4 separate regions of the Homo sapiens genome follow, and all the other regions are linked to region 1. The links are contacts of gene promoters, found by promoter capture Hi-C in blood cells and fetal thymus (Javierre and others, 2016). All regions are on one chromosome and are shown on one strand. Each heading gives the region's core, a stretch centred on a gene start or on the middle of the fragment in contact. The rest is flanking DNA. Distances are from core to core; before and after follow the strand shown.

The links. Contacts are between HindIII fragments. The CHiCAGO score rates a contact against its expected background, and 5 or more counts as called.
Region 2: a fragment that was not itself captured here is called in contact with the fragment with the promoter of MYEOV in region 1 in 8 of 17 cell types (M1 macrophages, M0 macrophages, endothelial precursors and 5 more); the score reaches 11.7 in M1 macrophages.
Region 3: the fragment with the promoter of MRPL21 here is called in contact with the fragment with the promoter of MYEOV in region 1 in 3 of 17 cell types (monocytes, activated CD4 T cells and M0 macrophages); the score reaches 7.5 in monocytes.
Region 4: a contact is called between a fragment that was not itself captured here and the fragment with the promoter of MYEOV in region 1, in 1 of 17 cell types (activated CD4 T cells). The highest score is 5.5, in activated CD4 T cells.

The regions. Positions count from the first base shown.
Region 1 is chr11:69,288,724-69,295,404 of GRCh38, reverse strand. MYEOV (myeloma overexpressed) reads right to left here and starts at 1,250. Exons shown (of 3, transcript NM_001293291.2): 1 at 829-1,250; 2 at 1-172. The coding sequence starts at 50. RefSeq lists enhancers at 2,128-2,679, 6,494-6,681. The HindIII fragment of the contact is 5,042 bases long and covers 1-2,721 here.
Region 2 is chr11:69,654,963-69,661,284 of GRCh38, reverse strand. LOC124902704 reads left to right here and starts at 3,370. Exons shown (of 1, transcript XM_047427985.1): 1 at 3,370-4,087. The coding sequence starts at 3,370. The coding sequence ends at 4,074. RefSeq lists enhancers at 1-431, 2,811-3,538, 5,418-6,322. The HindIII fragment of the contact is 180 bases long and covers 2,120-2,299 here.
Region 3 is chr11:68,899,017-68,905,454 of GRCh38, reverse strand. MRPL21 (mitochondrial ribosomal protein L21) reads left to right here and starts at 1,623. Exons shown (of 7, transcript NM_181514.2): 1 at 1,623-1,732; 2 at 4,850-4,907. The coding sequence starts at 1,645. IGHMBP2 (immunoglobulin mu DNA binding protein 2) reads right to left here and starts at 1,564. Exons shown (of 15, transcript NM_002180.3): 1 at 1,417-1,564. The coding sequence starts at 1,502. RefSeq lists enhancers at 1,082-1,141, 1,472-1,591, 1,023-1,750. The HindIII fragment of the contact is 5,018 bases long and covers 1,168-6,185 here.
Region 4 is chr11:69,555,382-69,561,712 of GRCh38, reverse strand. No RefSeq gene overlaps it. Among named protein-coding and RNA genes, the nearest start is that of LINC01488, 77 kb to the right of the region's middle. RefSeq lists cis regulatory regions at 1,088, 4,839, 5,897 and enhancers at 1,016-1,160, 4,767-4,911, 5,825-5,969. The HindIII fragment of the contact is 2,981 bases long and covers 387-3,367 here.

The sequences.
Region 1 (6,681 bases), core at 1-2,500:
AGACCTATCGGGAGAGCTGGGGTGTATGTGACGCAGATTCTGAGGGCCATGAGCCGAGGGAAGGAGCCAGACGCTGTCCTAAGTGCCAGGGGAAGTTGTTAGAGGTGTTAAGCGTGGCATGACGTGGCTGGATTTAGGGTCTGAGATGAACTTTCCTGCTCCTGAATGGACTCTGAGGAGAAGGAAGATACTACCATCCGTAATCCACCCCGGGAAGGCACTGACCTCCTTGACCATGGGGAGGATGAGAGGCCGCCGCTCTGTGCCTGGGTCCCCATGGCCTCTAGGGTCCCTTCACGTTTTCACCTCATGATCCTGGAAGCTGGGACCTGCCCAAATCCACCGGGTGGCCCCAGCCTCCCCATCTCTGGGGCAGGGGGTGGGCAGCCTTCTCCTCCTGGTTTATAGCCACAGATGACTCCAGGCACAGTGGTCCTCAACCGCCTCTAGGGACCATGGGGACGGCTGCCCTCTGTGTGTGACGGTGGCTGGGCAGAAGCCAGCTGGGCTGTCGTGGGTAGGGCCTGGAGGCCTCTGGCTGTATGGTGGTCTAGCTTTGGCACCACCTTGGGGGGCTCCGGGTAGGAGGTGTCCACCAGAGGGGACCTGGGCAGCTCAGCAGAGGCTTGGTCACTCCCGAGCCGTCTGTGGGTCCCACTGGTCTGTACCCTCAACCCCACTGACCTGCACTGGTCATGCCCAGCTCTCACAGGATGATGGCCCCAGCCTTGTAATGAGTCACCTGCTGCCCTCCTGCCCCTCCAGCTGGTCCCCCACCCAGCAGCCACAGGGCTTTCCTTAAAACATAAGAAAGACCCTGCTTCTTACCTGCTCAGATCCCACCAAGAACCGGCCACCTCACTCCAGATAAACTCCAGACTCTTCACTGAGCCCAAAGGCAACGAGCAGAAGTGTCCAGAAATCACACAGAGCTCAGCAGGTGGTGAGGCACCTGGACCCGAGTCACCCAGCAGCTGAACAGGCCATCCCTGAGGCCATGCACGCCCCGGCCCTGCAGGTGTGACGGCCGAGGCTTCCACGACGGGGGGTGAGTGGGAGCTAATATGGCTGGTGAAAGCACTGGGTTCAGTGGGGATGGCATCTCCCGCCCTCTGTCCAAGGTGGGGAAAAAGTCAGCTTCAGGTGAGGGAGACCCTGGACGCCTGGCTTTGGGCTGATTCCCCACTCACTTGGCCTCTCCCAAGCATACTTTCCTGCTTTGTAGGGATGTGGGTTCGCGGGACAGTAACAGGAGAATCAAGGCAAGAACTCAGAGGGGGATAGCCAAGGTAGGCGGAGCTGCCTGGTGGGTGGGACTAACCCAGGTGGGTGGGGCTGCTTGTGAGTGGGGCTAGCCCAGGTGGGTGGGGCTGCCTGGTGGGCAGGGCTTTCTTCCCCGTCAACATTTCCCTCTCTCGGTTAAGGCCAGGGCAGAGCCCACACATGGGTGTGCCCAACCTTAAGGCCTGCCCTGGGTGAGTTAAGACTCCCCAGCTCACCTAGGTCCTACCTGAGGGGAACCTACACGGCCAACCTCCTCAAGGATCCTGAAGCCACCCAGAAGACAGTGGGGCTAGGGTGCCATTCATTCATTCATTTATTCATTCACCTATTCATTTATTTACTCGCTTCACCACCCTTTCCTGGGTAATATTAAGAATAACAGTGGGCCTAGGAATATAGAACATTCTTAGGGGTTTCTTGCAGGCCAGGCACCCTAAGAAAAAGTTATGTAACCCACGTGGCCTCGCTGTGAGGGGGACGACTGCTGTCCTCACTTAATAGATGAGGAGCTGAGCCATGGAGGCCTCACAGCTGGGCAGCTGGGGGTGGACCCCATAGACTGGAGGGGGATGGGCAGGGGCAAGGAGTTCTGCTGGCCCCAGGCCTCTTGTACACATCTTGGGAAGTACTAAAAATGAGTACTTGCTCAAGTCCCTCTCTTCATTGAGCACAGGGAGCTCTTGGCCCTTCCCTCCTCCTCCCTTTACCCTCACCGCCCAATTCCACACGGGTGTACTGAGCACTTGCTAAGGGCCAAGACCAGCACTAGGTGGAGCACACAGTAGGAACCCAAGGCAGCCCTCCCTGCCCAGCTCTCCAGGACACTGTCGTCAATGCCAGCGGGAAGCATAGAGAGGCCAGGGAAAGACGGGCAGTCAGGAGGAAGGAGCCAGCGGAGGGGAGAGAGGGCCGGCAGCTCAGTGCACCTGGACCGTGGTGGATGCTGGACTATGACCAGAGACAGGGCTGCAGCCCAGAGCTAGCCCCAGACCCACAGGGCCTCAGGGGGCTTCACAGGCTTTGTCAGGGGTTTGGACTTTCTCCCGAGGGCTGGGGACCCTGCAAGTTGCAGAAACTGGGCTATATTTGGCATTTTAGAAGCCTCCCCCAGCTGTAGTGGAGGGGAATTGGAGGGAGTGGGAGAGGAGGTTCCCATTCTCACTCAGGTGGGAGATGGTGGTGGGATGGAGGGTGACCCTGATTGATAGGACTCAGGGACAAATTAAAGGTGAGGGCCAGGGAGAGGGTTATCCAGACAGCTCCCAGGAAGATGGCAGTGGGATGGAGGGTGACCCTGATGGGACTCAGGGACAAATTAAAGGTGAGGGCCAGGGAGAGGGTTATCCAGACAGCTCCCAGGAAGATGGTGACACCAGTGAGGTGGGGAGATAGGATGGCATTTGGTTCCCACTGAGCTGGAGATGCCTGTACAAAGCTTCTAAGATACCCAAGGCAGAATCTGCAGCTCCTGCAAAGACAAGAGCTCTGCTCTGCCTCCAGGGAATCAGGGGAGGTCTCCCCAGTGCCCTACTGGGACCTCCAGAGACCCTATGCGAGCCTCCCCCAACCCAACCACCAGCCCATCAGCGCCACCTACCGGCTGCTCAGGGCAGGCACTCAGCAACTTGCTGAGGGCAGATCCTGATGTGTCCCCGTTTTACAGATGAGGAAACTGAGGCCAGGAGACAAGATGACGCCTGTTTGAGGTTACGTAGAGGTGGAGGTGGCATAAGACCTCAGTTCTTCCTGGCAGATCCTCTCCAAAGAGCCCCGTCTGAGAGCAGATGGAAGGAGGTGGTGTCAGGAGATACCTTATCTTACTTTTGTCTGCTGTCAGCATTCCAACAACCCTAGATTATTTTGGCACCCCGCAGTGTCACTCAGTCTCACCATAGCCTCACTCTAATTATCAAAGCTCATCTTTTGGGCTGATATCTGCTTCTGGGACTCCCAGTAGCCCACCTGGGTCCTGCTGGGGAGGACTGTAGAAATCTGACTGCCCCAGGTTGATTTTCTCCCTCTGTCTTCAACATTCAGATTGCCAGCCCACCTGTTAAATCATGATGAGTTGGTGATGGTGATGGTGATGGTGATGATAGTGATGATGGTGATAATGATGGCGTTGATGATGGTGATGATAATGGTGATGATGGTGGTGATGGTGATGGTGATGATGGTAAGGATGATAATGGTGATGATGATGGTGGTGATGATGGTGATGACGGTGATGGTGATGATGGTGGTGATAATGATGGTGATGACGGTGATGGTGATGAAAGTGGTGATGATGGTGGTGATGATGGTGAGGATGATAATGGTGATGATGGTGGTGGTGGTGATAGTGATGATGATGATGGTGAACATGGTGAGGATGATAATGGTGATGATGGTGGTGGTGATGATGGTGATGATGGTGGTTATGATGATGGTGATCATGATGGTGAAGATGATAATGATGATGATGGTGGTGGTAATGATGGTGATGATGGTGGTCTGATGATAATGTTGGTGATGATGGTGATGATGGTGGTGATGATGATGGTGATGGTGATGATGGTGGTGATAATGATGGTGATGGTGATGGTGATGATGGTGATGATGGTAATGATGATGATGGTGATGATGGTAATGGTGATGACGGTAATGATGATGATGCTGGTGATGATGATGATGATGGTGGTGATGATGATAATGGTGAGGATAACTTGTACTGAACATGCACCACATGTCAGTAGTTTTCCCACACTATTTCATTTAATCCTCATGACAACTTTATGGCTAGGACTACTGTTATCCCCATTTTACAGAGGAGGAAACTAAAGTGTACAGTGGCTCAGTCACATAGCAAGTTAGCAGTGGAACCTAGGGGCACCCAGGCAGTTGCACCAAGACCTGCTCCTAACATTACCCTATACTGCTTTTGGCTCAGCCTACAGAGCTGTCTTTGTGACCCCTTCTCTGACACTCCTCCTCTGAGCCAAAGGGCAGCTCCTCCCATCATCCATATCAGTCTGACTGCTCTTTCGCAGTAAGACACAATGAGGAAGCCAAAGACTCTAAAGGGAGGGGCACAGGGATGCCAGTTTCCCTCAGAGCACTGCCAAGGAGGGACCACAGCTCCAATGGCGTGGGCATATGATGTTCCACCTGCCACAACTCCATGCCCAACTCTCCTGCTCTGAGGGATCAGGCTTGGCCCTGACCCTTCTGCCTGTGAGCAACTGGTGAGCAGCCAGCCCAGGTTGCAGCCACCAGCATGTGGGCACTGGTCAGCACAAGGCATGTCTCCTGTCCAGTACTCAGGGCCTCGCTGGCCACAGTTGGACTCTGAAAGATTCCTGATGTGGACTCAGATGTGTTTGAGCCTAAAAACATGCTTTTCATTGGTCCCACCCTACTTCAAACAAAACAGAAGCCTGGGTTGTTCTAAAAAACCATGCACAGCTGCATCATCTATTGCCCAGGCCCCAAGGGTCAGGTTCTACCAAAATTTCTACCTGCATGATCCCATTTAACCTTCCAGCTGCCCTGCCAGTGGCCCTCACTCCATTTTACAGATGAGTAAACTGAGGCCCAGAACAGTCATGCTGCCTCTTCAAGGCCATAAGCCGTTGGAGATCAGAGCCAGGATTCTGAACCAAGGCTATGTGAAGCCAGTGGCCCTCTCCATGCCCCACCCCAGCCCAATATGGTGCGATCTTCTTGGGAAAAGTAAGAACTGATGCTGAATTAATTTTTAAAATTGTGGGAGGCAGAATTCTATGATGGTCCCCAGACCCACACCTCTGGTATACATGCCCTACATAGTCCCTGCCCCTGTGAATATGATGAACACTCTATGATAGGATTGTGTTTGATGGCACTGTTGACTTGTTCATTTTGAGAAAGGGACACTAACCTAATGGGCCTGACCTCATCACATGAGCCTTTTACAAGTAGGGTGTTTTCTCCATCTGGTCCTCAAAGTGGAAGTCGGGAATTGGACGATGAGAACCACTGCTGATTTGGAAAATGAAGGGGACCACATGGCAAGGAATGTGGGCAGCCAAGGGAGCTGAGAGTGGCCCCAGCCAACAGTCAGCAGGAAACAGGGACGTCAATCCTACAGCTGCACCTGCAAGCAACTGCATTCGGCCAACAACCCGGATAAGCGTGGATGCAGACTCCTCCCCAGATCCCCCAGAAGGAGCCCAGTCTGCCTGACACCCTGATTTTCACCACGTGAGACCACGAGCAGAAGACCCACAAAGCAGTGCCTGGATGTCTGACCTGCAGCACTTTGAACTTGCAACTGGGGTTGTGGTAAGCTATTGAGTTGGTGGCGATTTGTTATGCCGATAGATAACTAATACGGGTATGCCTGCAGGTGGTCTCCGGGGGATCTTTGAAGGTCATGGCCAGTGGGGCCTTTCCTCAGGAGGTTCCTGAGGCTTGGGTTCCTCCTGGGATGGGGGCAGGGGAGCCGGTTGCCTCTCCACCCAGACCTGCTTGGGTGCTGCAGAATTAGCAGGTGCCACAGTGAGAGCATGAGCTGTGGAGAGCAAGAGGGAGGCCTTGGTTCAAATCACTGCCTTGCACCACCTCTCTGGGCCTCCCGTTCCCCAACAGTAAAGCAAGATGGATGCCAGCAAGTTGTGAGTGAGAGAGTGAACTAAGTGATTCATTAAAAAGTGCGTAGCTCAGTGCCTGGCACAGAGTACGTGTTTAAGAAGCCCTGGGTGGTGATCAGATGCTGATCTCGACATTGTGTTATGATTATCACACACATGACAGAGGGTGTCCAGGCCAAGCCCTATAGCACTGAAATAGGTACCTGCCTCTCTGCCTTGCTGGCTGGCACCCCAAGTAGGAATTTCTCCCGCAAGGAGCAACACAGAAGGCTGGCTGGAGGCCCCTGCTGCTCCTGGGGCAGAGAGGGACCCTGTCCATTCACACTGGTAGAGCCACCTACCAAGGTCCTCCAGAGCCTTGCAGAGGGGTTGAAGAAGGCATTCCTTCAACAATTGTAAAAGGTGCATTTTAGAAACCAAGAGGGTCTTGCTTCTGTGAGTCGGGACTGAGGGTGAACTGGACACCTGGCCCTGTGCCAGCACTGTCAGAAACAAAAAGGAACCAAATCCCTGTTTCCATGCATTCTGGGAGAGAGACTCAGAGACAATGGCTGGCAGGGGATGGGCACAAAGGTGAAACTCAGTCGTTCTGTGATGGGCCCCAGGAATGGAGCAAAGGAGAGAGATTCTTTGCATACAGGTGGTTTACAACACAGTAAACATCTCAATGCAAAGCATGGGGCTTTCTCAGTGCAAAGCATGGGGCTGTCCGAGACGATGCCGGAGCTCGGAGGAGCTGGGCCAGGGAGGGCGGGGGGCTTTGCTGTCAGTGCTGCAGAGCTAGCAG
Region 2 (6,322 bases), core at 960-3,459, 360 kb before region 1:
TCCAGACACTTCTGGCCTTGCATGTGGGGCCTCCTCAGGGATTTGCCTGGACTCCCCCAGGTCTCAGCCGCCACTGAGGGCAAGTGGCGGGAGCCCCCGAAAGGCGCTGTGACCGCAAGGCTCACTCTCCAAGAGGCCTCTGCCTTCTGGGAGGCGCAGCTGCCCTGCACAGAGGACTGAGTCAGGGTCCACCAGAGAAGGCTGGCTTGAGCCTCTCCCCTGGTCTCAGCCCCTGCAGGCACTATCCGGCCTCAGAACTTGGGATATGGATGTGGTCAGGCCCTTTCTCCAGGTCAGTTTGGTCACACGTGTGCTCTGTTACACACAGAGTGTGTGCCATGGAAGAGGGACCTGTCCCTTCAGACAGAGCAGTTCTAGGCATACTTCTGGGCACTGGTGGCCCCAAGAGGAGTCATTCCCTGACCCTGTGGAACTCCCAGCTAAGCAAGACAGGCATGTTGAAATTCCAAGATCACATGGTAACTTTGTCAGTCGCTCCTGTTGTTTATATCAATCATAACATGTTAGATCTAGAAGAGGTAGAAAACACACACAAGCGGCCGGGTGCGGTGGCTCACGCCTGTAATCCTAGCACTTTGGGACGCCGAGGCGGGTGGATCACGAGGTCAGGAGATCGAGACCATCCTGGCTAACACGGTGAAACCCGGTCTCTACTAAAATACAAATAATTAGCTGGGCGTGGTAGCGGGCGCCTGTAGTCCCAGCTACTCGAGAGGCTGAGGCAGGAGAATGGCGTGAATCCGGGAGGCAGAGCTTGCAGTGAGCCGAGAGCAGGCCACTGCACTCCAGCCTGGGCGAGAGTGAGACTCCGTCTCAAAAAAAAAAAAAGAAAACACACACAAGCTGTAATAGTTAAGTGTCTTTGAAAACCAAATGACACAGTGCCCATATCAAACTGACTTAATGAAGGACAATGATTGGCTTCTGGAACAAAAGGGGGATGACTTCAGGAGAGGCTTGATCCAGCAGTTTGTCTGGAGACCCATTCCCTGCTTTCCCTCAGGGCTGGCCTTACGCTCAGCCTCCCCTGTGAGGTCCTGGGAGCAGCTCAGTCTTCCCTTAGGGCTGCAGGGGGGCAGTGCCACCCCTGGGCTTGTGTTTCCCTGCTGGGAATCCTAAGGAAGGGGGAAGCATTATCTTTTTCAGAAGCTCCAGAAAATGTCTCCTCAAGACTCAATGGCTCTATTTGATTTCTCACCCATCCATTAACTTGCTGCTCTTCTGGTGGGTGTGGATGTGCAGTTGGGTTTCAGCCTATGAAGACCTGGCCTGGAGCTGGGGATGGGTTCGGTCCCACTCAAACCACAGATCTGGGAATGGTGGTTCCCTGGAGCAAAGTCTGGGTGCTGTCAACACCAGGAGGGGGCATCCGTGGTGTCAAGAAGACCCAGAACTGTCTACTTAATGTGCCAAAGGAGGGAAGTAAGATCGGCTTTGGTGCCACCACCCAGGCGGCCGCCGTGGCATGGAGGCCTGTGCTTCCAGACCTGGGCAGTGCATGGAATGCTGATGGTGATTATGCGGATGCGCCGAGGGGATGATGGCGTTCCCTGAGTGATCACTGCACCCCAAGCTCGGTGCTCAGCAGTGCTTCACACACATTGAGCCATAGAATCCTCAGCACCCCAGAAAGAATTCAGTTATTGACAGAGATTTATGGAGCCCCCGTTCTGTGCTGGTCGTTGTCGTGAGTAGGAGATGGAGACGACTCCCCATCATGGGCTGTGTTCTTGCAGGATTTCCCCATGTTATAGGTGTGAACATTGAGGCCCAGAGAAATGAGGCCGCACAGCTGGAAAGCTGCAGATCCGAGATCCAACCCCAGGGCCTTTTACTCCAAAACGTGTGTGCTTAATGTGTGCCTATACATGCCGGTGAGTTTTCTTTTTAAACAGCTGGTCACCCTCAGATGTCCACTGCCGGCCTGTTTGGCTGCCCTTCTCCAGGCCAGCAGCCAAGACACAGTGCCGCCCGCAGGGGCAACCTACTGGGAGCCTCGAAACAGGTGGAGCTGGCGAAGCAGGGCCCTGAGCTGTGTGCGTGGGGCCTGGCTGCAAATGGCCCAATGAAGCCTCCGTGCATTTCCCTTTTTGAAGCTTGAGCCTTTTCTTCTCCATGAGGCTGACCCACCAGGCTGGCTTGGTCACACACTAGCTGTGCAGTCCTGGCTCAGTTACTTTACCTCTCTGGGCCTCGGTTTACTCATCTACAACAGGGGTCGGCAAACTACCACCCTCAGCCTGAATCCAGTCTGCTGCCTATTTTTGTAAATAAAGCTTTATTGGCACACAGCCATGCTCACTCATTCACAGAGCGGCTGCAGCTGCTTTTGCACAGGGCAAGAGAACCTGTGGCCCACAAAGCCTGAAGCCTCTCTCTGTGGCCCTTTCCAGAAAACCTGCCAATCCCTGACCTAGCAGATGGGATGATTGTGTGCGGGAGAGTGTAGGCTCTGGGAGGGCAGGGCTGTGTCTGTGGCTGCCACCAGAGTGTCCCCTCCCTGTCACCAACCCATGGGGTCGTTGCAAAACTCAGAGAGAAACTGTGTTCGGTGTTGAGCACAAGGCACACAGTGCGTGCTCAGTAACCTCCAGCTGCGATTCCTCCCGTGATTAAACAAAGGCAAGGAGGACTGCCTCGACAGGCTCAGAGGGCCCAGGGTCTGGAATAGGAGCTGATCCTCGGGTTAGACCACTCAGCTCTTAAAGTGGCTGCCGGTTGAGAGGCTTGTCTCAGCTGCCGCTAGGTGCAAATTAAAAGGATTAATGGACACCGCCGTCTTTGAAAGGCTCAAGGCCCACCGAAGCCCCTTCAGCAGAGGGCTCTGCATTCTCTCTTCCCCAGCCCTCCTTGTGTGCCCTCGTGAGTGGCGGTGACAATGCTCCCGGATGTGGGCCCCAAGGCCAGCGGCCCCAGAGCTGCCCGCCCACCCGTCCGCCTGCTATTGTCTGCTCAGGCCTGGCGGTGTGGCGCTGGGCTTGTGGGGCCCTGGCGGGCAGGGGACTGTGGGAACGGATTAGAGGTCCTGGGCTTGCTTTCCTCGTCTTGCATAAACTCTTGATCAAAGACATTCCTGGGATGACAGAGCCCTGTGAGCTGCGAGGCTGGCCCAGAGTGCGGGACGCACACCCCACGCTGCAGCCCCTGCACAGGCCTGCCCTTGCTGGCCCTCGCTGGCCCTGGCTGCAGTGCTGACTTTGGGGACTAGCCTTATGGTGGGACTGGTGATAGAGCGGGTGCCAGCAGGCAACACAGCCTTCCCCACCAGATTCAGAGGCCAGGCCCCCAATGCTGGGCAGAGCGAGGCTGTGACTGCTTCCTGGGGTGCTTCAAGGAGGGTCACGCTGCATGCAGGGTAGCCGGAGGGATTGCCGGATGCATGCCACTGCCACTGGACCTGGCTTCTCTGGACTCCCATGGGCAGTGCACCACCCTCTGCACAGCCCTAGCCACTGTTATCCCACAAGCGCGGTCCGAAGTCCACGTGCCCACTCTGCCCAGCCTCCTTCCTCTGTCCCCTCAGGGCCTTTCACTCCTTGTGACAACTCTAGGTGCTGTCTGGGCTCCTGGGGAACCCCCGACCCTTCCAGCCATGGAATCAGCTCCCGGCATGCGGGTCAGGCTGGACCCATGGCTCTGCACCTCAGCCCAGCAGCTTGGGGCTGCCCTGTAGGAGCCGACACGACCTCCCTTCCATTCGGCCCCCTTCCTAGGACCCACTGTATGCCAGGGTGGGGAGACGGAGGCAGAGAGAAATCTGGGAGATTTCCGTCCTGGAGGGGCTCAGCCAGAGCAGGAAGGTGCCCAGGCATGACAATCCCAGACTCCCAGAACCACCTGCCTGCTGTGGGGTGGGGAAGCCCTCAGAGAGCCCATCCTTACAGTCAGAGCAGAGATGAAGGTTCCTGTGGACCGAGGCGGTGGGCCAAGCGCAGAACAGGAAGCTGGATGCAGTCTGGTGTGTCAGGAGCTCCTGGGCAAAGACATCGAGCTTATTGGGGTCAAGGCTGGGGAGAGATGGGGCTGAGTCCCAGGGACCTTGGACGGAGCTGAAGGGAGATAGGAAGGCTGGGGGTTGGGGGCAGAGGATGAAGAATGGATGAGGACTGTCTGGCTGCAGGGAGATGGGCCAGGAGGCAGGGCAGGTAGGGGTGGCGGGCGTGTGAGGACAGGCTTCTGCGAAGGGGCTGCAGGGAGAGCTGACTGCGGAAGGCTTTGTCTCTGAAGTTCCTCAAAGGTCAGTTTTTACCATCACCCTCTGGGTAGCGCAGATACTCCAACAAGGGACGAGGTCTCCACTGAATCCCAGGAGGGGTTGCAGGCACAGAGGTGATGTCAGTGGAGTTTGAGAGTTGGGAACAAGGGCCTAGAGTGGCCAGACGATGCCTTTGATATGGTTTGGCTGTGTCCCCACCCAAATCTCATCTTGAATTGTAGCTCCCATAATTCCCACGTGTTGTGGGAGGGACCCGGTGGGAGGTGATTGAATCATGGGGCAGTTTCCCCTATACTGTTCCCATGGTGGTGAACAAGTCTCAGCAGATCTGATGGTTTTATAGGGGTTTCCCCTTTCACTTGAGTCTCATTCTCTCTTGCCTGCTGCCATGGAAGACGGGCCTTTCGCCTTCCGCCGTGATGGTGAGGCCTCCCAGCTACGTAGAACTGTGAGTCTATTAAACCTCTTTTTCTTTATAAATTACCCAGTCTCGGGTATGTCTTTGTTAGCAGTGTGAAAACGGACTGATACAGCCTTGGAGCTCGTGGCATAACCACGATGTATAGACCCACCCATCACTGGGGGATGTACAGAACCCCCCATCGTGGCACAGCCAGGGATGGGGGGTGTACAGACCCCCCCATCGTGGCACAGCCAGGGGTGAGGGGTGTACAGACACCCCCATTGTGGCACAGCCAGGGGTGGGGTGTGTACAGACCCACCCATCACGGGATGCCACAGATGCCGAGACAGAGAGAATGGGTTGTGGGAGAGCTTGCAACTGCTTCACTCTGGGCCCAAGCCCTCTCTACACACTTGGCTGTGAACCCACCTGACCCACCCAGGGCCCCGGCCCTGCCCTGCCACCCTGCCTGAGCCCCGCGCTCAGCTCCATCTCTCCCAGTAGACATGTCGCTGCCTTTTGGCTCTGCCAGACCTATCAGCCTACACATCCCTCTTTCATCTTAAAAAACCTTCCAAACACTAAAGTAGATCCCTAGACCCATGTGCTCCTCTCCCTGCATGGCAAAGTGGCTCTCCAGCTTCTTCCCCACATCCTTGCTCAAACCTAACAGGATCCGATGGCTCCCTTGCCTGCTCCGTGAAACAACCAAAGGTGCCCTGTGCGATGGTCGGAGCTCTCTGCACAGGCCTCCTGCTACACCCATGTGCTCTCGGGGGATGAATGTAAACCCAGCTGCAGGCCGGGGGTGGGGACATGGCTTCCCTAGGACCCCAGCCCTGACACAGGACCTGGCCATTGCCTGGAACTGGAGAGCCGCAATGGTGCAGACCTGGTCCCTGCCTTCAGAGTAATTTGCCCAGGAGCAAGGAGGAGCTGGGCCTTGTGAGCCACCCGAGTGGCCACCAGTGTCACCTCTGGCTCCGACTGTCCCTTGAGCTCTTTCTGATGTGACCTGTCAGGGGCACCTTGCAGGCTCCCCCACCCACTCAATATAGGACTCCCTCGAGGAAGGCTCCCGGAGCCCCCACCCTCAGGGGAGAGGCTGGTGGAGACCTACAGGGGCCAAGCGTTTCCCTCCACACCCCACCTTCCTCCCAGGGCAGGCGCCTGTGGAGCCAACACACCGACCACCCCGGCCCCACTGTTGAGCCCTGGGAGGAGTGCTCTACAAGGCAGGAAGGGTAGACAGCAGGTGCTTCATAAAGGCCACGGAGATTCAACCTGCAGCTGACAAGTAGCACCCATCGGTGGCTTGGGACCTGAGCTTCCACTTAGCTTGGGATGAGGACAAACCAGCCTCACAGATGGGTTCAGGAGCAGTGACCAAGGTCCGAGGACACCTTCCCAGGGCACTCCCACTACCTGCCTCCACCCTGGGGTTTGAAGTTAAGTCCAGTCACGTGCACCTGAAATCCAGAGGTGGGCGTCATGGGTGTCCTATAAGGCGGCCTCCAGGTCCCCACGATCCCAGTGAAAGGCCACCCCGGATCATGGCCCTGACACGGTGCTTTGCTCTCCCGGAGCCTGGCGTCGCCAAAGGACCATGATTCATCCAGAGCAAACAGCAGTTTGCGCCAGAAGAGGGTTAACGAATGCCGGCTTTATTTATTTTCCTATCT
Region 3 (6,438 bases), core at 374-2,873, 390 kb after region 1:
GCTGAGCACCTGACTGACAGGGGATCGTTTCATTCTCAGAGCAAGCCTGTGAGGTGGGAATCATCCCAGTTTTACAGATGAAGTAAGTAAGGCTCAGAGACAGAACCTGCAAAGTCACACAGCCATAAATGAAACAGCTGGGATTCTAAGAAACTCAACATAACTGCAAAAGCTCTCCATTGCCATGATCAAAAGCATCTCAGACAAATCCTACCCACATATGGCTGACTGCAAACTCTGGAAGCAGACTGCCTGACAGCAAATCGGGCTACACTGTGTCACCCCGGGGCAAGTTACTTAACCCCTCTCTGTCTCCATCTCCTTAGACGGAAAATGACAGTAACAGAAACCTACACTGCGGCCGGGCACGGTGGCTCACGCCTGTAATCCCAACACTTTGGGAGGCCAAGGCGGGCAGACCACGAGGTCAGGAGATCGAGACCATCCTGGCCAACATGGTGAAACCCTGTCTCTACTAAAAATACAAAAAATTAGCAGGACGTGGTGGCGCGCCTGTAGTCCCAGCCACTCAGGAGGCTGAGGCAGGAGAATCGCTTGAACCCGGGAGATGGAAGCTGCAGTAAGCCGAGATCGTGCCACTGCACTCCAGCCTGGGCGACAGAGAGAGACTCTGTCTAAAAAAAAAAAAAAGAAAAAGAAAAAAAAGAAACTTACACTGTAGGGTTGGCATGGGATGAGGTGTAAAAGAATTAACGCATGGAAAGTACGTAAGTGTTAGCTCTGATTGTTTTGGACAAGTAAATAGTCCCATTCGGAAACAAGCCCGGCTCTCACATGGCTCCCCACACCTCTCAGGACGGCTCCCCACCCTACTCCGCACCCACCAGCTTAACTCCAATTTTCCTTCAGGCACCACTCCCTCCTTGAAGCCACCATGACCCTCCCCAGGGAAGGGCCTTCCTCCTCCAGGCTCTTTCCCCGCGACACGCACGCAGCCGGCCCTGGACGCACTGGAGGGGAAGGGACTCTCTGCTTATGCCCAGCCCGCCGCTGGCCGGATCGGGGGCAGCCAGTGCACCTGACTCATGCTGCCGGGGCCTGACTGAGAATGGGCGCAAACCATGTTTACTGAATGAATAAGGGAAAGGGCTGCTAACTCGCTGCGGGTGGAACTGGGGTCGGGGCCAGGGCCCAGGAGTGTAAGCTTAGTGGGGGGTCTCGGGTCGGGAAATCAAAGTGCTTCTTAAGGGTCCCCAAACGGAACGCGCTGCCCAGGAAGTGATGAGACTGACAACTCGGGAGGTGGCCAAGCAGGGGACGGACGATCCCTGCCCCTGACTCGAAGGGTCGGAGACGAAATTCCCGCCCCAGACTATGAGGCCGAGCCCCTCGGAGACTCTGCCCGGGACACGGCGGGACCGACCGCGAGGGAGCGGCGCCGGCGGCCTCCCGTACCTGCGCTCCTCCACCTCCGCGTCTCTCTCAAGCTCCAGCAGGTCCAGTTGCTTGGTCACGAAGCTCTCCACAGCTGCCGAGGCCATCGCCGCCGCCGGCCTGGGCCCCTAGAAGCCGACGTCCCGCTTCTGCGCCGGGCCGGTGTTACAGCGGACCGGTGTTCCCCGCCGGGCCCGTGCGTTACGCACGCGGTTCGCGTCGTTTCCGTTTCCGGCCGAGGCTGCGGCCATGGCAGCATCTTCCCTGACGGTCACCTTAGGGCGGCTGGCGTCCGCGTGCAGCCACAGCATCCTGAGACCTTCGGGGCCCGGAGCAGGTGAGACCTGGGATATGGGAGGAAGGGAGGACGCAGAGCGAGCGCTGCTCCCTGCGGTCTCGCCACGTATGTGCCTGGGTCCGACCTGGTGCCTTGTGTGTTGATCGCATTTGTGGTGAATATAGCACGGGTTTTGGAGTCGGGGGAACCCAGGTTCAGATTTTGATTCCTTCAGTTAGTAGCCTGAATACTGACAATAGCCCTTGAACTTTGGTATAGGCCCTATGTTATGGGGGAGAAGAGTGAGGCTCAGAGGAGCTAGGTAACGTGCCCAGGGTCACACAGCGGGGAAGTGGAAGAAGAGTACTTCAGGCGCAGTCATTTCGGCTCCAAAGCCTGTGCTTGAACCACTGCCCCCAGGCTGCGAGCTGGTCTGAAAAATGGTGATGGATATCCTCGCCTAATCTGAACTCATTCTGCAAAAGAAACAGCCGTATTTAAGGCGCTGGGCTGATACGAGGCTCCAAAAAGGTTATGTCCGTTAAAAACTCTATAAATCTCTGCTTGAAAATGGTTGGAGTGTGTATTTGTGTGCATGAGTGTTTATGTATGTTTTAAACCTGGGTTTCATGTCTCACCATGACCCCCAAAAATGGAAAACTGGATCTAACTCTATATTGGACGATATTAAAAGAATAGTACCATAATTCCCAAAACTTGGAAGCAACCCAGATGTCCTTCAGGAGATGAATGGTTACATAAACTGTAGGACATCCATACAGTAGAATATTATGCAGCAATAAAAAGAAATGAGTCATGAAGAGACATGGAGGAAACTTACATACATGTTACTAAGTAAAAGAAGCCAACCTGAAAAGGGGACATCTTGTATGTTTCCCACTATGACATTCTGGAAAAGGCAAATCTAAGGAGACAGTAAAAAGTTACATGGGGGGTAAGAGGATTGGGGGAGAAAAGGATAAATAGGTGGAGCTCAGAGGATTTTTAGGGCAGTGAAACTATTCTGTATGATATAATGGTAGATACATGTCATTATAAGTTTGTCCAAATCCATAGAATGTACACTACCAAGGGTGAACCCCTAATGTAGACTATGGACTTTGGATAACAATGATGTGTCAATGTAGGTTCATCAATTGTAAAGATTGTACCACTCTGGTGAGGGATGTTGATAGGAAGCTGTGGGCACATGGACAGGGGACATATGGGAACTCTCTGTACCTTCCACTCAATTTTGGTGTGAAACTAAAACTGTGCTAAAAAATAAAGTCTATTAAGAAATTAATAATAATCACAGAGTTGGGCCAGAGGCAATGTAGATGCCAAAATTGGCCATGAGTTGGTAACTGTTGAACCTGGAAAGGGATAATTGAGAGAGTTCACTATTCTGTTCTCTTTACTTTTGTATGCTTGACATTTTCCATAATAAAACTTAGGTTTAAGTAGGCAGGAAAGTTTTTACAAAAGCAGTGGGACTTACTCCATTCTACCTACCTACATGAAACCACCCCTCCAATGCTATGTTCAAGTACAGACTCACGCATTAGGAGAGAAAGACACACAGTGAAGCGAGTAGAGACAAGGTGACCAAAACAGTGAGCAGCTGGGGCCTTGAAGAGTGAGCAAAGGAGACGTGATGGAAGTACACAGTCACAGTCTCTAGGACTACCTAAAGGAAATCCTGTGGGAGAGGAAGGAGACTGTTTGTTCCCTGGGGACCCAAAAACAAAGCTAGAAGCAAATTAGGTACAGAAGCCTGCTAAGTTTTTAATAGTGGGATGGATTTGCCAATGGGTTGACTGAGTAGTGTGCGAGAGAAGAGTCAAAACTGATGGAGGTTTGGGGCCTGAGCAACTGGGAGGATGAAGTTGCCCTCATGTGAGAGGGAGGAGTGTGGGAGAAGCAGGCATGGGAAGAAATGAGGAGCCTCTGGAGGTGTGAGGTGCTCGTCAGACACGAGTGGCTAAGGCAGATAGATAGGTGGGTATGCAAAACCAGGAGAGAAGCCCTGGCTGGAGGTGTAAACTTGGGAGTCACCAGCACATTGGGGGTGTTTAAATCCATCGGACTGGATGCAGTCACCAGAGGAATGGCCATGGGCGGAGAGGAGGTCAAGGCCAAGGGTTGAGCCCCGGATGCCCAAATGGGAGAGGAGAGGAGAAAGCAGCCGAGGAGATGCAAATGGGGAGCTGGTGCTAATGGGTGAACTTTAAAAAGGTGGTTTTTATGGTGTGTAAATTATAGCTGAGTTTCTTTAAAAGTGGTTATTGAGAAACTGTTCTCTGCTTTTTACACCTAAGCACTTATTTTGATCCCCTGTCTTCTCAGTAGATTGAATGTCTTTGTTTCCTGGTGTATTCCTGGTGTATGCGTTATCTACGGTTACATCAGAAATTACCCCAAAACTTAGCAGCTTAAAACATTTATTAACTCACACCAGTTCTGAGAGCCAGGAACACAGAAGCAGCTTAAGTGGCTGGTTCTGGCTCAGGGTCTTAGCTTGCAGCAAGCAAGTCTGCAGGGGCTGTAGTTATCTCAAGACTCCACTGCGCCAGCGGCTGGAGAATCTACCTGCAAGGTCGTTCCCATGGGTGTTGGCGATAGGCCTAGTTCCCCGCCATGTGGACCTCTAGGTAGGGCTGCTCACAGCAGGGCAGCCCTAAGGCCAGAGATCAGAAAGGGTGAGCACAGGCATCCAAGATGGAAGTCCCAGTTGGTTATCACCTCATCCCAGAAGCCACGTGCTAGCATGTCTGTCACTAGCTGTTGGACACACAGGCCACTCCCAGGGGGCTAACAGGGGTAAGAATAGCAGGAGGCGGGGCCCAGCAGGGCCATCTTGGAGGCTGCTCCCACGCTTGGGCACAGATCAGAGTCTGAACCTACCAGGCACTTAGTCAAGGCATGAGTTAGTGGACGGGTGGTTCTGGTCTCAGGCGCTTGTAGATGATGTGGCTAACTGATCTCAACACATATAACCAGTAGCTGTAAGTGACGTTCTTGTAGTTTTGCTCACCTAGGTGTTTCTGTGGGCAGGCTGTCATGCAGTGGTTCATACCATGTACCAGGAGCAGCAGCTGTGCATTTAGCATCATAAAGGGCAGTTTGCATTTGTAGTATTAATGGTAATGATCTGTGTTTCTCTTCTTCCCTCAGCCTCCCTTTGGTCTGCTTCTCGAAGGTTCAATTCACAGAGCACTTCATATCTACCAGGGTAATATCAAAATGTGGGTTTTGGTGCCTCTTTTCCTTTCATTTGTAGAACCATCTTTCTAAAGTCAAAACTTCCTACCTTTTGGTTCTCAATAATATTTAAATTTCCTCTTTTGTTTTTAAGAGACAGAGTTTCACTATGTTTCCCAGACTGGTTTTGAACTCCTGGCCTAAAGTGGTCCTCCCGCCTCAGCCTCCTGAGTAGCTGGGATTACAGGCATGCACCACCACTTTCAGCTTTAACTTTTTTGACGGTATTTTTCTGAGACCCTTAAAAGAAGACGTAACTGCAAGAGACCAAAGAGAAATTCTGTATGTGTTTGCTCTCTTTTATTATGGAGGAGCTTGAAGTCTTAACTCAAGATTTCTGATGAGGAAGTTTGTATCAGAGTCTCTAAGAGAAACTCATTATTTGAAAAAGCACATTCAGTGTTAAAATTTTATACTTGAGAAAACATTTTTAGGTATCATAAACTGCAGAAAACATTCGACAAAGTTCCACTCACTGGTGGGAGACACAGGAGCAGTGCAGGGATAGCAGTTACTGTAGGGACCCCCCCGGGGTGCAGTTCCGGCTGCCCCTCACAGCCTGGGACGCCAGGCTTCTGCAAGATGGAAGTAATGTTCATTTCTATCTGCATGGGTGTTGGAGAGGATTAAGTAAATGTATACATTTAAAGCTCTTAGAACAGTGCCTGGCATACAGTCAGCACTCACAAAACATTGGCTGCTGGAACTGCTGCTGGGACTCCAGGGATCCTCTGCAGTGGGGAGATGTGGGAGTCTTTCTTGCTTCTCAAAGAAGCGGCAAAACATTCTGAGCATAGGAAGAAGTTGTAAGTGAGCATGTGGGTAGGTTGTGCCTACTACCCCTGTGTCCTGTGTGAGAGGTTAGCACCTTCCTGCCAGCGTGTTCTTCTCACACTGGGCACTGCTGAACCCGTATGGGGAGACTAGACATCAAACAGGTCAAAGACGTTTTGTAGAGAGCAGCACCTTCCTTGTCCTCCTTGTCTCTCAAGGTCATTGACCAACCACAGATCACGGAGTTCATGTCTCTAGGAGCTCCAAGCCCTACCCCACTGGGAAAGCATTCATTCCTCTCCCAGATTGGTGTGGAGCCCCTCCTGCGCGCCAGCCAACAGGACGGGTGGGCCTGGTCTTTGGTGTGGAGGCCGGTGCATTTTGCATATGGAGCAAGTCGTTTTCTTCCTCCTAATGCAACCCTGGAGTAGAAAGACTGAAATTTTACTTTGCAGTGGCAGCAGCAATAAAAGCTTAAAAACGGTTCTGAATAATTCGGTTTGGGATCTACCTACCCTCCCTCTTTGTAGACTACAGAAAGAAAGACCCCACCTCCTTTTGAATCTAGGCCCCCCTCTTTCTTTCCTCCCTTCCTCTCCCCTCCACCTACCTGAGGCTGAGCAGGCAGGGGAGAGTTAGGAAATGAAGAAGATCTTGGGCTGGGCACGGTGGCTCATGCCTGTAATCCCAGAATTTTGGGAGGCCGAGGTGGGCGGATCACTTGAGGC
Region 4 (6,331 bases), core at 628-3,127, 270 kb before region 1:
TTGCCCATGCTGGTCTTGAACTCCTGAGTTCAAGCAATCCACCCACCTTGGCCTCCCAAAGTGCTGGGATTACAGGCGCGAGCCACCACACCCAGCTTTCAATTCTATGAAGGCTGAGAGATGTGAGGAAGCTGCAGAAAAAAAGAAGGAAACTAGCGGAGGTTGTACATGAGGTTAAGGAAAGAAGCCATTTCCATAAAATAGAAGTGCAAGGTGAAGCAGCAAGTGCTGACGGAGAAGCTGCAGCAAGTTATCCAGATGATCTAGCTGAGACCATTGATGAAGGTGGCTACACTAAAGATCAGGTTTTCAATGTAGACAAAACAGCTTTCTAGTAGAAGATGGCATCGAGGACTTTCACAGCTAGAGAAGGAGAAGTCAAAGCTTCAAAGGACAGGCTTACACTCTTGTTAGAGGCTAATGCAGCTGATGACTTTAAATTGAATCCTACACTCACTTGCCATTCTAAAAATTCTAGGACCCGTAACAATTATGCTAAATCTACTCTGCCTATGCTCTATAAATGGAATAACAAAGCCTGGATGACAGCATATCTGTTTACAACATGGTTTGCTGAATATTTTAAGGCTACTGTTGAGAACTTACTGCTCAGAAAAAATATTCCATTCAAAATATTACTGTTCATTGACAATGCACCTGGTCATTGAATCATGTGCTCTGGTAGAGACGTGCAAGGAGATAATGTTGACATTAATGTAATCATACCGGAAAGCATAACATCCATCCTGTAGCCCACAGATAAAGGAGTCATTTCAACTTTCAAATCTTATTATTTAAGAAACATCTAATGTGTCTCACAGGACTATTGCTGCCTTAGATAGCGATTCCTCTGATGGATCTGGGCAAAGTAAATTAAAAACCTTCTGGAAAGGATTCATCATTCCAGATGCCATTAAGAACACTCATGATTCATGAGAGAAGGTGAAAACATCAATACTAGCAGGAGTTTAGAAGTTTGATTCCAACCCTCATTGTTGACTTTGAGGATTTCAAGGCTTCAGTGGAGGAAGTCACTGCAGATGTGGTGGATATAGTGAGAATTAGAATTAGAGGTGGAGCCTGAAGAAGGGACTGGGTTCCTGCAATCTTATGAGAAAATTTGAATGAGTGAGGAGTTGCTTCTTGTGGGTGAGCAGAGAAAGTGATTTATCGAGATGGAATTTACTCCTAGTGAAAAGTCTATGCCCACTGTTGAAATGACAACACAGGATTTAGAATATTCCATAAATTGAGTGGATAAATTGAGTGGATAAAATTGGAGCAGACTCCAATTTTGAAAGAATTTCCACTGTGGCTAAAATGCTGTCTAACAGCATTGCATTCTACAGAAAAATCTTTCCTGAAAGGAAGAGTCAATCATCAAGGTAGCCAACTTCATTGTTATCTTATTTTTACAAATTGCCACAGCCACCCCAGCCTTCAGCAACCACCACCCTGATCAGCCAGCAGCCATCAACATCGAGGCAAGACCTTCCACCAGCAAAAAGATGACAACCCGCTGAGCGTTCAGGTGATTGTTAGCACTTTTTGGCAATATTTTAAAATTAAGATATACATTTTTTAGGCCAGGCATGGTGGCTCATGCCTGTAATCCTAGCACTTTGGGAGGCTAAGGTAGGCAAATCACTTGAGCTCAGGAGTTCGATACCAGCCTGGGCAACATGGTGAAACCCCATCTCTACAAAAAATACAAAACTTAGCTGGGTGTGGTGGCACACACCTGTAATCCCAGCTACTAGGGAGGCCGAGGCAGGAGAATTGCTTGAACTTGGGAGGCAGAGGCTGCAGTGAGCAGAGATCACGACACTGCACTCCAGCCTGGGCAACAGAGCATGACATGTCTCAAAAAATAAATAAAGAAAGAAAAGTTAGACACAAAAGACCACATATTGTACAATCCTATTTCTCTGAAATGTCCAGACCAGGCCAATCTATGGAGACGGAGAGTAGATTGGTGGCCTCCAGGCTGGGGGTAGGGTGTGTGATTGCTAATGAATGGATGTTTCTGGAGAGGGTGATAAAATGGTTTGGGACTAGACAGTAATTTTTCACTTTAAAATGGTAAATTTTATGTCATATGTGATTATCATCTGAATAAAAGAGAGAAAAAACGCAGAGCAAGAGCATTTGAAGAGAAAACAGGAAAACGCAGGATCTCTTTATGGGTGCATGGCCTCTTTTTGCCCATTTTAGGGGAGTGTGGGGCAGGACCTCTGAGAACAGCATATGAGTCGCTGGGAGAGCCTTATTGAGCAGGAACTTCCTTTGTGGGAACCCAGGGCTATCTGTCTGGCCCATCTCAGCTGCAGATTCCAAGGCCCCTTCAGCCCCAGGGCTCTTTCTCCAGTGAAGGGTCCTCGCCTTGGACCCAGGAATGACAAAGAGCCGGGGCTCTGAGGCTGCTATGTGTGCCTCTATCTTCCCTTTATGTGTTGGCTTGGCCCTCCTAAAAAGCCTGTGACCACTTCCTGACCAGGTGAACCCTTTTTGACCAGACACAGCTACTTAAAATAAGCCTTTAGGTACACGGATGGAGGTCTGCTGGCCGAGGCTGGCATTTGCACACTTCATTGCAGCACTGGAGAACTGAGTCTTCTTTTACTCAATTTTTCATAGAAATAGGCACATTCCCCATCCCTTCCCCTCGCCCCCACAACCCCTGACGCTCAGCATCCAGGGCTGATCTGAGAGGGACCCGGGAGGCAGAGAAACCCCAGAGCCGTCATTTCCCAGATGTGGCATTATGTGTGAGCCTAGGTTTGTGTTCTTTTAACGGCACCACATAAAGTCGCTTTAGGAAAGTCTTTATTCTTATCATGTAACCGGTAGATCAAAAAGCATCCTCATACTTACAGGATGTGATGTGACAGATAACCGACAGATGTGGTGGTGGGAGAGGCTGTGGGAGCGGAAGGAAAATCAGAGAAAGAAAAGAGAGCGCTTTGTTGGGTTCGGGGTGTTGTTTCACCCACGTGAAACAACAAGAAAAGGCCCACGTGGCCTTAGCTTCTTTCTAGTTTGAGAATGGGTTGTTATTTCTAAGACATAGGCAAGGAGCAGAATGTGGGAGGAAAAAGTCAGAGATTTCCACTGAACCTACGAGACCAAACAAGAAAGCGCTCGATGACAGTGGTGAAAGCAGTGTTTGGGGTGCCTCTATCCACCAGATGCAGCTGGTTCATATGGGGCCCTTTCCTGGACCCCACAGGAGACAGGTGGCCAAAGGATCTCAGACTAACGCATCCAAGCGTGCCTGGTTTGTCCTTAAGGAGGCCTAGGGAATGAGTTACACTGGCACAGAGTGAATGAACAAGCTAAGACCGCTGCCCAGTTAGACTCGTAAGCTTACTTTACATGGTGTAGATACTAAGAATAGCCAACATTTATCAAAACATCTTCTTTCTGCCGAACGCTCTCCTGGGAGTTTTCCATGTAGTAGCTGATTTAATCAGCTCAGCAGCCCTCTGGGATGGGGGCTTGCATTAGGGACATTTCACAGACGGGAAACTGAGGCAGAGAGGGGTGAGGGGACTTGCCCAAGGTTATGGTGGGAAAGCAGTGGTGCTGTGATACATGTAAAAATCAATGAGAAAAATTATATTATGCTGCAAGTCCCAAACCGCACCCAAAATAATCACCGAATAATGATACAGATTGGGCGTGGTGGCTGACGCCTATAATCCCAGAACTTTGGGAGGCCGCGGCAGGTGGATCACTTGAGGTCAGGAGTTCTAGACCAGCCTGGCCAACATGGAGAAACCCCATTTCTACTAAAAATACAAAAATTAGCCAGGTGTGGTGGCATGCGCCTGTAATCCCAGCTATTCGGGAGGCTGAGGCAGGAGAACAGCTTGAGCCCAGGAGGCAGAGGTTGCACTGAGCCAAGATCGTGCCACTGAACGCCAGCCTGGGTGACAGAACAAGAGTCTATCTCATAAAAAGCAAAACAAAACAAAAAATGATACTAGCAATAACTGCCAAATGCATTTAGCCTTTGCTGTACCCAGGCACTGGGCACCCTGCCTTTCTCACTGAGTTTACTTAGTGCAGACAGGCTTTAAGTAAGGTGGGAAACTAAACCCCCCATATAGAGGAGGGAATGGAGGCCTCAGAGCAGACGGACCTGGAATGGAGTCTTGCCTCCTATGTTTGTGGCCCTGTTTCCCGGGAATTGGAAATGGTGCTGTAAAGTGCCTGGTATGGGGAGGTGAACCTGCAGGCCGGTATTGTTGTGACTTCGCTCTCCCTCTTGGTAGCAGCCACCGTCAGTGTGTTCAGAAGCATCCAGCTGCCATGTTTTGGGTACAGTTCCCATGTCTTCTCCAAATCCCATGTTGGAATTAGACCCCCAAGCTTGGAGGAGGGTCCTGGTGGGAGTTGTTTGGGTCATGGAGGCGAATCCTTCATGAATGACTTGGTGCGTTCTCCTGGTAATGAGTGAGTTCTCACTATTAGTTTGTGTGAGAACTGATGGTTGAAGATCTGGGCCCTCTGCTCTCTCTTCCTTCCTCTCTCGCCAGCTTCCCATTGCCTTCTGCCAAGGTGAGTGGAAGCTTCCTGAGGCCTCACCAGAAGCAGATGCCAGCACCATGATTCCTGTACAGCCTGCAGAACCATGAGCCAAATGAACCTCTTTTCTTAGCAATTACCCAGCCTCAAGTATTCCTTTATAGCAATACAACTGAACAAAGACCCCAGGCCAAAGGCGGAGGGGATTTCGAGGCTCTAGGGTCCAAGAAGTGGGCAGGCCTAGCCCCCTCTAGGCACAGGCTTGGATCTTTTTAAATTTTGAATAAGACTGGAAATGATTTCTCTCTCTTTTTTTTTTTTTTTTTTTGAGATAGAGTCTTGTTCTGTCGCCCAGGCTGGAGCGCAGTGATCTCAGCTCGCTGCAACTTCCGCCTCCTGGGTTCAAGAAATTCTCTTGTCTCAGCCTCCTGAGTAGCTGGAATTACAGGCATGCACCACCATGCCCAGCTATTTTTTGTACTTTTAGTACAGACTGGTTTTGCCATGTGGGCCAGGCTGGTCTCGAACTCCTGACCTCAGGTGATCCACCCGCCTCAGCCTCCGAAAGTGCTGGGATTCCAGGTGTGAGCCACCATTCCCGGCCCTGATTTCTGTTTGCAATGTTGTGCAACCACTCCTCCACAGCAGTGAAACAGGTGACATTACAACCCCACTTTCAGGAAGTGGAAACTGAGGCTCAGAGAGACTGAGTGCTGTATCCCAGGTGGCTGGGCTAGTGAGGAGCAGAGCTGGGGTGTTTGGGTTTGTGCTCAGGGGAGTGTCCTCTAGGGCCCTTCTGGGCTGCTGAGGGAGCAGAGCCGGCTGCACAGGCGAGCCCAGCGTGCCTAGACGGGCCTGCACCTGCTGCAATGCCCTGCGATCACCATCTTGAAATTCTTACTAGGGTTTGAACAAGGGATCTTGCATTTTCATTTTGCACTAGCCCAGCAAATGATGTAAGAACAGGGGAAGGAACTGAGAGACAGCCACCTGGGGACCAGGGCCCTCATCCTGGTTCTCTGTGTGGCCTTAATCAGCTGTCTACCACTCCCTCTTGCCTTGGTCTCCCCGTCTGCAAGATGAAGGAACAGGGCTAGATTGGGATTCCCTCATGTATATTTCATGGAACACTGATACCTCATGGTTCACTGAGACAAAGTCCCTCCAAAAAGTGAGTTTGTGAAACGGTGCAAATTTTTCTCTTGGAAAAATCCAGGGCAGTTTTGCATATTCAGGGATCTGTGTAGACTTGAAACAACAACAACAAAAAGCCTTCTTTAAAAAAAATGGCATTAGTATTTTCCAAATATATTAGATCACAAAAGCCTTCAGCAAAGTGGGATATCGGCCGGGCGCAGTGGCTCACACCTGTAATCCCAGCACTTTGGGAGGCCGAGGAGGGCGGATCGCTTGAGGTCAGGAGTTCCAGGCCAGCCTGGCCAACATGGTGAAACCCTGTCTCTACTAAAATACAAAAATTAGCTGAGCGTGGTGGCGGGCGCCTGTAATCCCAGTTACTCCGGAGGCTGAGACAGGAGAATTGCTTGAACCTGGGAGGCGGAGGTTGTGGTGAACCGAGATCGCGCCACTGCACTCCAGCCTGAGCAACAGAGCGAGACTCTGTCTCAAAAAAAAAAAAAAAAAAAAAGTGGGCTATCTACAAAATATCCCCAGAGAAATGCTAGACTAACACACTTTTGAACTCTTTTCCAGTATTCAGGGCAAACCTTCTGCCTTCCTTTTACTATCCCCTGGATTGACCGTGTCATGCAGGAAATTCAGAGACAGACCCCGCAGGCAT